2 separate regions of the Homo sapiens genome follow, and region 2 is linked to region 1. The links are contacts of gene promoters, found by promoter capture Hi-C in blood cells and fetal thymus (Javierre and others, 2016). All regions are on one chromosome and are shown on one strand. The core of a region is centred on a gene start or on the middle of the fragment in contact, and the rest is flanking DNA. Distances in the headings are between cores, read along the strand shown.

Region 1 (3,287 bases), core at 315-2,814:
AGATAAAACACACCAACCAACCAACCGACCAACCATTTATTTATAACCTTAAACATGCCTATACATGAACTTAGAGAACGTTAAAGTTTCAAGGGTTCGAAGCGCCTAGGCTGAATTAAAACAAAAGTTGTTTTGTGTTCTATTAATAGCAGATGATTAACAGATATCTTATTTCACCTGGAATTCATTTGTAAGTATGTAAACTAAACAGGCCACTAATCCTAAGTCTCTGTCTGTGTCTGGAAAAATTCTCTCCTAATACATGCAAGTTAAGAGACCGGCTATCAACGCATTCCTTAAGGTTAGGTCAATTTCATTAAAACCTCGGTTGTTCTTTGACTTCAAGAACCTCACCAAATAACCCATATATAAAAGCCAAGTTCAACTGAAAGGTGGGAGAGGAAGGGTCTAAGGAGGAGGGCGTTTCCCGGGAGAACGCCCAGAGCTCGGCTCACCTGGCGATCCTAATTACAGGGGAGTTTCACCCCCACATTCTTGGGCGCTTTCTTTTCTTAGAGGAAACTCGAGCTTGTGTCTTTGGTCCCGGAGGGCTTAAGCCCGGCAGCCAGGACAGCACGGGTCACTGATTCCAAGAAGTTGGGAGGAGGACGTGGGCCCCACCGACGCACAACAGACCCCTCCCCAACTTAAGTGCACTAGTTGTAAAATGTGTAGCTGGTCAGGGGATGGGGGGTGGTCTCCAGAGCTCTGAGGGTCAGGGAAGAGGAGAAGGGACGGGGAGGAGAAGGGACAGGGGAGGCGGAGAAGGGCCAGGAGAGGAGGGGGAGACACACGGGGAAGGAGGAAGAACCAAGAGGAGGGGGAGGGGGAGGGGGAGGGAGGGGGATAGACTGGGGAGAAGAAGGGACAGGGGAGGAGGGGGAGACACACGGGGGAGAAGGAAGAACCAGGAGGAGGGGAGGGACAGTGTCGAGGGGCAGGGGAGGAGGGAGAGTGAACGGGGAGCGGAGGGGCAGAGGGAGAGGTACAGCGGGGCGGGAAAGAGAGACAGGGAAGAAGCACAGGGAGGAGGGGAGGGAAGGAGGAGGAAAAGTAGGGGGGAGGGGATGGGGAGGGACTGGGAGGAAGGAGAGGGCCAGGGGAGGAAGAAGAGGGGCTGTGGAGGGCCAGGGGAGGAGTGGGAGAGACCGGGAGAGGTGGAAGGACGCGGGGGAGGGGAGCTGGAGGGAGGGAAAGTACCTTCCCGCGTAAAGTCCCCTTCTGAACCCCGAGGTGGAAAGCCCTGACCTCCCTGAGCCCCGGGCCCTGGGCTTACCCGGTAGGTGCTCTCCGTGAGCCGGTTCACCTCCTCGGGCCCCCGGGACATGGCTGCGGCCGCCGGGCGAGCAAGCGCGGGAGGACGCGGCTGGGCCTCGTGGCCGCCGGACTCCGGGCAGCGGGAGGGCCGGGGCGCGACTAAGGGGCTCTGGAGGGTCGGCCGCCGCCGCAGCCGTCGGCCCGAGAGTGCCCGCGCGCGTCTCCGCTGCGAAAATGTCAAAACTTGCGGCAGCGCCGCCCTGGCCTTCTTCGAGGAGCAGAGGAGAAGCGGCCGGACGCCGCCAGAGGAAGCTGGGCGGGCCGGGCGGCCCCACCTGAGGCGGGCGGGGCAGACGGGGGCGGGGCCGCAGGGCCGGAGGGGCGTGGCGTACCCACCTGAGGCGGCCTGGTGAGCGGGGCCCGGCCGGGGTGGGCGGGGAGGAGGCGGGGCCAGGCAGCTGGAATGGGCGTGGCCAGAGGGAAGCGGGCCCCCCGAGTGGGCGGGGTCACCCCACCTGTGGCGGACAGGGCAGCGAGGCCACGGTGCGCCCCCTCGCGGCTCTCCCAGAGCTCCGGCGACGTAGGGCCCGAGACCCTGGAGTGGGGACCGGTGTGGAGTGGGCTGCTCGCTTTGCTGTTTTGCTAGGGCAAGGGCAGCCTGGGGGTGTTTAGACTGTGGTCCTGGAGCCCTTGTTTGCCTCGCGTGGTGCTGGCCCCGGGGACCCCGAGGCCCACTTCCTCCATGAGGGCTTCCTTCAAGCCCTGCGTTTTGGGGACCAAGGGAAGGGGCCACATTCCCCAGTTGTATTGATTTCCCTGATTGATCTCTTCTTGCCCCGCCGCTCACTGACCCCAAAAGTTAGAGGGACCCGTGGGGGCATCGGCCCTCCTAGGTGGAGAAAACGGGCTGCCACTTGCAGTTTTGAAAGCTCCTGATATATCAAAAAATTAATAAATGCCAGGGTCTAGTTACCGAAATGTTAGTACTTTTTTTTTTTTGAGATGGAGTCTCACTCTGTCGCCTAGGCTGGAGTGCAGTGGTGCGATCTCAGCTTGCTGCAACCTCCGCTTCCCAGGTTCAAGCGATTCTCCTGCCTGGCATGAGCCATCCTGCCTGGCCCCCAGATAGAAGCTTTTTGTTTGTTTTTGAGACAGAGTTTCACTCTTGTCCCCTCAGGCTGGAGTGCAGTGGTGCTCTCTCAGCTTGCTGCAATCTCTGCCCCCCAGGTTTAAGCAATTCTCCTGCCTCAGCCTCTCGAGTAGCTGAGATTACAGGTGCACGTGCCACCAAGCCAGGCTAATTTTTTTGTATTTTTAGTAGAGACGGGGTTTCACCATGTTGGCCAGGTTGGTCCCGAGCTCCTAACCTCAGGTGATCCGCCCTGCTCAGCCTCCCAAAGTGCTGGGATTACAGGCTTGAACCACCGCGCCCGGCCCAGTAGTACATTTTTAAACTTTACATTAACAACGACCTTTAACTCAATGCAGTGTAACCATGCTACTCACGAGATTGTTGTAGGGTTTAGAAAACCACCTGAGCTGAAGTGTTAGGGAAGCCTCTCTTCTTGTCATCACTCAAACTCTGTGGAGGTGTGTGGCTCCTGGGCTCCCTATTTTGTCTCCATCCCGGCCTCAGCCCTGCCCAAGGGTGAGGCAGCTGCCTTCTTTGGGCCTCTCTTCCAGGATTATGTACCTTGGGCTGGGTGACAGCCTTCTCCCCAGTAAGAACCACCATTTAGCTACCTGAGACCCGCACCCAACAAGGGCAGAGGTCTTATTCTGATTTTTTAAAACCTCTGGGCTTGGTGGCTCATGCCTGTAATCCTAGCACTTTGGGAGGCCAAGGCAGGCGGATCACTTGAGGTCAGGAGTTCGAGACCAGCCTAGCCAACATGGTGAAACCGCCCTGCCCCCGTCTCTACTAAAAATACAAAAATTAGCCAGGCATGGTAGCACGTGCACCTGTAATCTCAGCTACTCGGGAGGCTGAGGCAGGAGAATTGCTTAAACCTGGGAGGCAGAGATTGCAG
Region 2 (3,440 bases), core at 231-2,730, 200 kb before region 1:
AGCCAAGCAGTGGGAGGACAGAAGGGAAAAAAACTCAGCGAGGGTCCCCTCCCGCTCGTGATCACAGTCCTCCAGTGGAGAGGAGGCTTCATGGCCCTCAGGATTATAGGCAGCTGTTGCCCCAGGATTGCTTGAGACTGGAGAGCAAGAGAACAGAGAAAAGAAGAAAGCTGGAATTCCCCCTTCTCTTTCTGAGCATCAGAAGACCCCCTTCCTGCTCCGAAGCCAGAACCAAGGGCTTCTCCTGGAGCACTGTGTCCAGGGCAGTGCCCACTTTGGATTCCGGGCTGACCTGAGTCCAGGCGGGGGATTGTGGAGGAGAAGCCGACACACTTGTTGCTGGTGGGTGGCACCTTGAGCACTGCCGCTCGTGCCCGCCTGCCTGCTGCTCTGCGCTTCTCTGCAGCCTCAGAGGGCTGCTTCATGCCTCTGCCGAGGTCAGAGCTGCAGGCAGAGGGAGAGACAGGGCCTAGTGTCTGTCCGTCCTCCCAGGCCTGGAGCCGCCCTTGTCTTGAGACGCTTACTTCTCAGTCGATGAGTCTGATGCGCCTGCCAGTGGGGAAGCGGTCACACGGGGGGTTCCCGTGAGCAGGCCTTTGCTGACAGGAGTTTCTGTTTGACTTTTCAGGAGACCCCAACCAAAGAGCTGGGGCCCTGTGGAGGAGAGGCGTGCGGCCCGGACCTGAGCGGCCCAGCCCCAGCCTCAGGCTCTCCCTACCTGAGCAGGTGCATCAACTCCGAAAGCTCCACCGACGAAGAAGGTATTTCACGTCATTGTCTAGTTTTAAAGGAAACTGAAAAATTGAGTAATGTAAAGGTTTTTTGAGGGTAACTTCCCATGTTGCTTTAATGACGCCCCCTGACATGGGCACAGAACTGCCATCTGCCAGCCGGGCCGGGCTGTGTCTTCCGACCTGCAGGGCGCACCTGCCCAGAGGCTCCCCCTCTCCCTCATCACGCAGTGATAAAAAGGGTGGGGTTTTATTTTTTATTTCTAGGTGGTGGCTTTGAGTGGGATGATGACTTCTCCCCAGATCCTTTTATGTCAAAGACAACAAGTAACCTGCTCAGCTCCAAGCCTTCTCTCCAAACATCCAAGTACTTTTCTCCGCCGCCACCGGCCCGGAGCACGGAGCAGAGCTGGCCGCACTCGGCGCCTTACTCCCGGTTCTCCATCTCTCCCGCCAACATTGCCAGCTTTTCCCTCACACACCTGACCGACTCGGACATCGAGCAGGGCGGTGAGAGGCGCTGCGTGCTGGGGATTGGGAGTGCAGGGTCGGGGGTGGGGCGCTGCAGCTGGGAGATGGTGGTTTTGCAGGCCTGATAATCTCATGTCTTCTTCACATTTGCTGAGTAGATTACAAACTTGTTTTTATAAAACTCCCATCATCAGCTGGGTGCAGTGACTCCTGCCTGTAATCCCAGCTACTCAGGAGGCTGAGGTGGGAGGATCAGTTGAGCCTGGGAGTGTGAGACCAGCCTGGGCAACATAGTGAGACCCCATCTCTAAAAAAAATAAAAACTAAAAAATTAGCTGGATGTGGTGGTGTGCACCTGCACTTCAGCTACTCAGGAGGCTGAGGTGGGAGGAATGCTTGAGCCCAGGAGTTCAAGGCTACAGTGACCTATGATTGTGCCACTGCCCTCCAGCATGGGTGACAGAGCAAGACCCTGCCTCTAAAATAAATAAATAAAACTGCCAGCATCCTGAGTGTGCTCTCGGGGCCATGCCCCCTGCCTGTTGTGGTCACTCTCAGGCTCGTTACCGGCCACCCTGTGGGGCCAGGCTGAGGCAGAGGGGCTCTGGGTCCCAGGAACGCCCAGGCTGCGCGCCATCTCCTCTTTTTCTCCTGTGGCTGCATAGTCCCTCCTCCGCACTCTGTCTCCTCCTTTCCCAGAGAGAACCTGCTCTTCAGCAGGCTCGTAAGAGCACTTGACCCCTGGACTTGGGACCAGCCCACATGCCCTCTGGTGCTGCCCCTGGAATGTTGGTTTTGCTGCTGAGTCTTGGTCCTGGTGTGGCTCCCGAGGGCGGGGTGGGGTGAATGGGCAGGGGCCATTTGAAGTCGAGGTATCTGAACATAGGGAGCCTTCTTTCCCCGTCACTAGATTGAAAGATAAAGGTTAATAGGCTCATTTTTTGATTGGAAGTTTACAGATCAAATAATAAATATGGAATACAAAGAGGCTTTATTTCCCTCGGCGCTAGGCTTCATTTGTGCCGATTAGATAACACCTGCTATCTGCCAGTCTGTCGGGGCAGATGTGTGGATCCCAGCTGACTTCTTCTGCACCCTGACCCTTAGCGCCCAGCGGGCATTTGAGCCTAGCAGATGTGGGAGAGTCAGGCAGGGGCTGCTTCCGAAGGAAAGGACAGGAAGGGCGGCTCAGGCGGTGCTGGGCTCAAAACACCCGCTTCCGTTCCTGTGGTGCAGCGCACATGCCATCCACGCCATGCCTGTCTGATCATTTTAAAAACCCAGCTTTGTCGTCTCGCTTCCTCTCTCCTCAACAGGAAGCAGCGAAGACGGAGAAAAGGACTAGGTGGCTGCCAACGCGCACGCTCGGGTCCGAGGCTGCTCCCCTGGAGCGGCGCCCCTGCGCCCTCAGCCCGAGCAGCGACATCCACTCGCCATTTGCTGACATGAGATTGGGAGGAAGAATCCAGAGGTGAAGAGGGAGACGGCTCTTAGCTGCGTTCAAGGCGGGGCCCTCGGGAGCCCAGGTGCAGAGCGAGGCCGTGTCCAGGAGCCGGCGTCCCTCAGTGCCCCGTGCACCCGCGGCCGCGGCCTCCCAGGCAGTGCTCATGCGCTGGCCGTCGGGGGAGGCAGGGGCACAGCCTCCATGTGCGCGCGCGTGTGGAGCTGTGTGCACCGCATGTGTGCTTTCCACAGGGGCGTCTCTGCGTCCACGCCTGCACATCCCGGCGCACGTGTGGGCACCACAGAGGACACGTGAGGGGAATGGTCACCAGTGAGCCATATTTATTATTTCTAGAGAAATCACGAACTGCTTTCTGTAATTGCACTGTGGATAAATGTTCCGAGAGTCTCCATTGTTGTACAGGATCTTCAGTTATTCGAGGGGAATGAGGCAGGTCAAGCCGATGCTAGCCACTAGTTTGATTTTTTTTCTGTTTTATAGTTTGCGCTGCATGGTACTTGTGAAGCTTAAATATTTTGAGTGTTCTACTGTGTCTAGGATTGTTGGGATTGTACATATGGTACTCTTTCATAAATGATAAATGATTCTGAATGTTAGTGTTTTATGTTCATATAGGAAATATTTTCATTGAGTCCAAAATACCACTGTTTTGTTGATGGACTTGAATGCATTTTTGTCTCTTCTTGATGAAGCGGCTTTGCCGCAGCAAATGAGGCTTCTCTCTGAGGAGCTGAGAGGTCTTGCAGCCTCTCCTTGTCATTCTCCCACCCCAC

What was found. Contacts are between HindIII fragments. The CHiCAGO score rates a contact against its expected background, and 5 or more counts as called.
Region 2: a fragment that was not itself captured here is called in contact with the fragment with the promoter of BAIAP2L1 in region 1 in 1 of 17 cell types (total B cells); the score reaches 5.7 in total B cells.

What each region holds. Positions count from the first base shown.
Region 1 is chr7:98,399,526-98,402,812 of GRCh38, forward strand. It overlaps BAIAP2L1 (BAR/IMD domain containing adaptor protein 2 like 1), which reads right to left and starts at 1,565. Exons shown (of 14, transcript NM_018842.5): 1 at 1,277-1,565. The coding sequence starts at 1,327. RefSeq lists a silencer at 1,239-1,898. The HindIII fragment of the contact is 3,647 bases long and covers 1-2,387 here.
Region 2 is chr7:98,202,946-98,206,385 of GRCh38, forward strand. It overlaps LMTK2 (lemur tyrosine kinase 2), which reads left to right. Exons shown (of 14, transcript NM_014916.4): 12 at 629-761; 13 at 999-1,241; 14 at 2,519-3,440. The coding sequence ends at 2,547. Among named protein-coding and RNA genes, the nearest start is that of BHLHA15, 6.8 kb to the right of the region's middle. RefSeq lists an enhancer at 648-827. The HindIII fragment of the contact is 3,380 bases long and covers 1-3,170 here.